Regions from separate parts of the Homo sapiens genome. Here region 2 is linked to region 1. The links are contacts of gene promoters, found by promoter capture Hi-C in blood cells and fetal thymus (Javierre and others, 2016). All regions are on one chromosome and are shown on one strand. The core of a region is centred on a gene start or on the middle of the fragment in contact, and the rest is flanking DNA. Distances in the headings are between cores, read along the strand shown. Region 1 holds the start of KCNC2 (potassium voltage-gated channel subfamily C member 2). Region 2 has its middle 160 kb from the start of ATXN7L3B.

Region 1 (3,107 bases), core at 232-2,731:
GCCCCTAACCCCCTCTCTGCCTCCCCAAACACACTCTCTCTCCCTCTAAACCTACTTTCTCCCCCTCCTTTGCCCCATTCTCTCCTCCTCCCCTGGTTGGCCTCTCATTCCCACTCTCCAAGACCCTCCTCTTTCTCCCCTTCCCCTAGCTTGGATGCAATTCTCTTAGGCAGGGAGTTTTCCTCAGGCAACTTGGCAGTGTTGGGTGAGAGCACACCCTCCCCCCACCCTGTGAAGAGCCCGGATTCCACACCCACCCTAGGTCAACCCCGGACCCCTCTCTACTCCCTAGCGCTCAGGGAGTGCCTTCTGAGCAACCTGTTCTAGGATCACCTCTACACCTGCTCACAGACCAAGCAAAAAGACAACACAGAAGTCAGAGAAAAAAAAAATCTCTGCTGTTGCTTTTCACCTAGGAGACCTCTGACTTATTTCCTCATTCGATTTCCTTTTCACGTTATTATTATTATTGTTGTTGATATTATTATTACTTGGGAAAGGAAACAACTAACTAAGATCCATCTTTAAGAATAGAAGTGATCAATGCATCCCACCCATCCCCCTTCCCAAGAAAAACAAATCCCTTAGTGGGTGGAGGGTGGGGGATTTGCTTTCTAGGAGGGGCGAGGCTCGGGGAAAAGCTGCTTGGAGGCACACCCCCTGGGTCCCTGAGCTGAAAGTCTCGCTGACAGTGTCCCTGTTTCCAGCCTCCCAGCCACCTCTCCCCAGGGCTTCATCTCTACATTCCTATTGCGGAAAGGCGGAGCGGGGGGATGCTGGCCTGCAGGGTCAACATGCCCTTTCCAGGAAATCGCCCCTTTCACCACCCCCGCCCCCATTTCCAGATACCTTAACGAGACCGAGAGAAAAGTGGTTCTGCTTTGGTTTCCGAGTGGACGAGGTTCTCTGGGCAGCGGGACTGAGTCTTGGCGCCCAGGTGAGCCGCCCTTCTCCGACGAGAAACTACTTGTTGGCGTTTTCCGGATTCAGGTGGTTGAGCCGCTTCCCTGGGCGCTGGGGTGGGGGAGAAAGCCCCCGCCGGCCGCCGGCCGCGCTCCCCGCCTTCATTCTGTGATCTGCGGATTTGCCAGTCGCCAACCTCCGCGCCCAGAGTCACCATCGCGCAGGGTTGGGCAAACCATGGAGCTCGGGGCGGGTCCAGCCGGCACTGCCCGACCCCTCCGGGAGCGGGCAGATCGGCTGGCCGTGAATGGAGTGGAGACTGGCCGCAGGTCAGGAGAGCTCACCACTTGAAGGTGAAGTCGCCCTGCTCGGATTCCATCTGCAGATTTTGTTTCTCCCCCAAATCAGCCACTGCTGGAGCTGTCCCTTCAGCACCACTCGCCATCAACCTCCCGCCGCCATCCGAAGCACAGGGCTCAGGAAAGAGTGGGTGGGTGGGTCTGGAGAAGCTATGTGTACCAACCAGGTTCACATATTTTTCTTCCGTGAAGCTCTGTCTCCACCCTCTCTGGAGCTTCTGCCTGCCTTATTTACACCCCACTCTCCACACCCTCTCTCTCCCCCCACCCCTCGCTATGCCCCACCCCTCCCAACAAGTGAGAGAATCTAAAACCAATTGCATTTTTTTTTTCTCAATGACAGTTGGCCGGAGAGAGAGGTCTACTAACAGGTGACAGTAAATATTGTTTTTTATGTCTTATGCATAGCTCTGGCTTGCTTTTTCAAATCAAATGTCAGTCTCCAGCCACCACACCACGGTTATCTAAAGCAAAACAAGTTTTAGAAGTTTATCCCAGGAAGATAGTGCTTTACAAAGTACAAGCTCCAGGGTTTCTTTTTGTCTGAAGCTGAAGAGAAAATCCACAGATACCCAAGTATCCAAGTAATTTTTTAATAAGCCAATTTCACCCTTTCTCAAGTTTTCATTGCCCCTTGTATTAGTTTGCTAGGGCTGCCATAAGAAAGTATGACAAACTGGGTGGCTTAACAGCAGAAATGTATTGTCTCATGGTTCTGCCAGTTTCAAATACAAAATTAAGGTGTTGTTAGGGTTGGCTTCTTCTGAGGGTTGTGGAGGAAGAATATGTTCCAGTCCTCTCTCCTTGGCTTGTAGATGGGCATCTTCTCCCTGTGCCTCTTCTGACTATTTTCTCTCCATGCATATCTGTCTCTGTGTCCAAACATCCTCTTTTTATAAGGATATCAGTTATATTAGATTGGGGCCCGCCATAAATGACCCCATTTCAACTTCACTATCTCTATAAAGATTCTATCTCCATACAAGGTTACATTCTGAAGTACTGAAAGTTAGGACTCCAATACAATTTTTATGAGGGGAAGGGGCACTATTCAACCTATAACAGGCCTCATCACCAAACAGATCGTGTGTGTGTGTGTGTGTGTGCGTGCACATGTGTGTATCTGTGTGCATATTCCATGAAAGAAAGAAAGAAAGAAGAAAGAAAGAAAGAAAGAAAGAAAGAAAGAAAGAAAGAAAGAAAGAAAGAAAAAGAAGGAAGGCAGACACTATTCTACAGGCATAGTTTGTTAGAATTGAAGTCCACCCAGTAAGGAAAACACCAGGTCCTCTGTGGAAGAAGATTTCTTTGATAAACAGGTATTGATATGATACTATGGCTTAGAAAAAGCAAGATTTGTGAGTTATTAATAAGAAAATTTTAGCAATATAGAGAGTGATAAGACAGGTAGTAAAATGTGAATTCACCAAATAAACGTCTATCTGTTATGACACATTAAATAGGTTAACAAAGTAGAGAACCAAAAGGTCTTTGGAAGGTCATTGATGTCTAGAAAATAAATGCAAAAGATGTAATATATACATTTATTTTTTAAATTACTGACAATTTTACAGTAAATGTGTAAAGACAATGTGTACCCAGCATGTGAGTTACTAACACACACAAAAATGTATAAGGCTTTAATGTGAAGAAAATTATTTTAATTTTGTACAATTATCAATCACTGAGGTATTTCCAAAAATAATAATGATAATAAATTTCAATTGCCAGAAAAATTACAAAGAAAAAGTATATTCACCTTCTAACAGTCATTCTTCCATTGTCTAGATGGTATCATATATTGCTTAATGTAAATTCAGTAGGTAAAAGGGGGAATGTGGTTTG
Region 2 (3,269 bases), core at 585-3,084, 520 kb before region 1:
TCTTCTTGGTCACAACTGATTATCAATACGCTCTCCAGCAGAAAGTCTTAAAAAGAGATGAAAAGAGCCTACCGTGAGAAAACAAACAAACAAAAACCATAACAAAACACAGTACTGCAATAAAGAACCATCATGCAACCCGAAGGGCAGATAATAGAGTTTAGCTGAATCTCTGCCCTATGTGAATTTTAAGAACAAATACAAAAACAAAAGTACAATATAGGCCTAAGAAAAATTACATCAAGGCAGAAAAGAAAACACCACCATGAAGACTTAGAGAAAATGCAGGCCTTTAGATGATTTAGTAAGAAACTAAAGAAAAATTTTAAAAAGTGCATCATTATGAATTAAGAAGATACAACTCTGATGAAATAGCAATAAGTATTCATAAAAGACTAATAGACAAACATCAATTCAAAATGTGAAAAATAATTGGATGAGAAGGATCTAACGAGCTATAAAATAAGCTAAAATAAAATATAAAGTAAATTATATATAAAGGTATTGATATTCCCTAATATAATACATTTCATGAATAGGATAAACAAAAACACTTAAAATAATAAATAATATTTATTAAGTGCTCTTTAAGTGTTAAAAGTCTTGATTTCTTAAAAAATCAATAAATTAAAGTGTTAGAAATACTGGAATATATATATTTAACATTATTAGAAAAAATAAGCCTAGGTCAATATGCCCTCATCCACTCTCACACATTTCTGTGTTTTTAATTATTTTGAGTTTCTTTTTTTTATTTTTTTGTATGTTTATCTCATTTAATAATGTTAGAGATTTCTCTTCAATTGCCTGATAATACTTGGCTGTTCCTTCATATTTAAGAATAGCACTATTGCAAACTCTGTGTGCATGAGTAGCCTTGTCAGCTAGTGGCCTTTCTTATAGGATCATCTGAATGAACTAGTTCAGGAAGGGTCTCCATCAGTAGGTGCGTTCTTACACTGTTCAGTTTTGCTTGAAATGAATTTTTAGTTCTTCTGACCATCAGGAGTTGGGATGAGGGAAAAAGGAAATGAGTAAAAGTAAATTCTTAATTATTCCTTCAGTTATTTTAGTATTCAGAGCCAGACTTTCATGGTTAAGTATACAGATTAAATTATCCCACTTTCAACAAGATTCTCCCTCTGAGTAGAGAATCTTTCCATTTCAAATTTTCCAGAGAATAGAAAACATCCACACTTCTGCAAGGATAAGCGAGCAGGGGAGCATCAAGGGAGGGAAGAGATAATCTTCGTTTACCCTAATAATTTTATGAACTTGATGAAAGCTCGTCAATAGCTTTCATCAATAGCACAACAAAATAGATGTGTTGGGGATATGGAGTTTAGTTTAAAACTCAAGTATATAAGAAAAAATCCATTTTTATAATTTGACGATCATGTTGAAGCTTTAAAAATTTTAATTTACTATAATATGAAAAACTAAATTCATTTTTAGCATATACATAGACAATTGACTTAAAAAAATTGTAAAGGCTATTATACCTACCACCCAAGTTAAGATATCTCCTTCACTGAAGGAAATGTTATTCTGAATTTTGTGTTTGTCCTTTGATATGGTTTGGCTGTGTCCCCACCCAAATTTCATCTTGAATTGTAGATCCCATAATCCCCATGTGTTGTGGGAAGAACCCAGTGGGAGGTAATTGAATGACGGAAGAAGGGTTTTCCCATGTTGTTCTCATGATAGTGAAAAAGTCTCAGGAGATCTGATGGTTTTATAAAAGGCAGTTACCCTGCGCAGGGTCTCTTGCCTACTGCCATGTAAGACGTACCTTTGCTCTTCCTTTGCCTTCTGCCATGATTTTGAGGTCTCCCCGGCCATGTGGAACTGTGAGTCCATTAAACCACTTTTTCTTTATAAATTACCCAGTCTTGGGTGTGTCTTTATTAGCAGTGTGAGAACAGACTAATACATCCTTTCTCTGTTTTGCTTCATCCTTTTTATATTGTTATTTACACTGTTAGCTTGGCAAGTGTTTAAAAGTTATACAAATAATATATTTCTGCTGAATATTGTGCTTGTGAGATTTATGGATATTGATAAATGCAGCTGTGGCTGATATATTTTCATTATTATAGAACATTTTATTGTATTATATTATGAATGTACCACAAGTGTTTTATCAATTCCCTTGCTGGTATACTTTTAGTTTGTGTCTAGATTTTTCTCACACACAGTATTATTATGCAAGCATCCTGATGCATATGTGCAACAACATTTTCTAGGTAATTATCCAGCTAAAGAAGCTTCTATAGGATAGGAGCAGAGATTTTGGAGCAGAAATGCTGAGCTATAGAGTAAGAACACTTTCAACATTATGACGTTGTGAAATTTCAAGATTCTGTAGCAATTTATAGTCCTGCATGCAATGCAGAAGTGTTTTTCACTGTTTTTCATCCTTACCAATGTTTATGATTTTTAAAGTTTTTAATTCTCCTTCGTTTTTTTTTTTTTCGAGACAGTGTCTCGCTCTGTCACCCAGGCTGGAGTGCAGTGGTGTGATCTTGGCTCACTGCAACCTCTGTCTCCTGGGTTCAAGAGATTCTCATGCCTCAGCCTTCTGAGTAGCTGGGACTACAGGCACGTGCCACCACACCCGTTTAATTCTTGTATTTTTAGTAGAGACGGGTTTCTCCATGTTGGCCAGGCTGGTCTTGAACTCCTGACCTCAACTAATCTGCCCCACTTGGCCTCCTGAAGCGCTGGGATTACAAGCCTGAGCCACCGCCACCGCCACCGCACCCAGCCAGTTTTTAATTCTTAATCTAGTCAGTATGTTACCTCCATATTGTAATGTGAATATACTTAATTACTAGTGAAGCTTAACAGTCTTGCAATTGTATTTTTTTCTTTAGTATGTCTACTCCAGTGATATGCCTGCTTATAAATTTATGTTTCTAAGAAAATGTTTTTTCTTTTACTTATTTACTGCCAGTTTCATTTCTTAATATTCTGCATATAAATTATTCATCACTTAGAAGTGCTGCAAATAGAAACTCTACTGCCATGGCTTTGTGTCTTAATGGACATTTATTTTTAATTTAATCACATTTATTAGTCATATTTATTTGTTAATTGTTTTTTGTATCTTGTTTAACAAATTCATCCCTTTTAGTATTAGGGATATGATGGTCAAAGATACACAGTTTCAGTTAGAAGGGAGAAATAAGAGATCTAATGTTCATCACAGCTGCTACGGTTAATGACAATGTATTGTATAGATGAAAATTTCTAAGAGAGTAGATGTG

What was found. Contacts are between HindIII fragments. The CHiCAGO score rates a contact against its expected background, and 5 or more counts as called.
Region 2: a fragment that was not itself captured here is called in contact with the fragment with the promoter of KCNC2 in region 1 in 1 of 17 cell types (endothelial precursors); the score reaches 5.1 in endothelial precursors.

Annotation. Positions count from the first base shown.
Region 1 is chr12:75,208,358-75,211,464 of GRCh38, forward strand. KCNC2 (potassium voltage-gated channel subfamily C member 2) reads right to left here and starts at 1,482. Exons shown (of 5, transcript NM_139137.4): 1 at 850-1,482. The HindIII fragment of the contact is 8,191 bases long and covers 1-3,107 here.
Region 2 is chr12:74,691,473-74,694,741 of GRCh38, forward strand. No RefSeq gene overlaps it. Among named protein-coding and RNA genes, the nearest start is that of ATXN7L3B, 160 kb to the left of the region's middle. The HindIII fragment of the contact is 862 bases long and covers 1,404-2,265 here.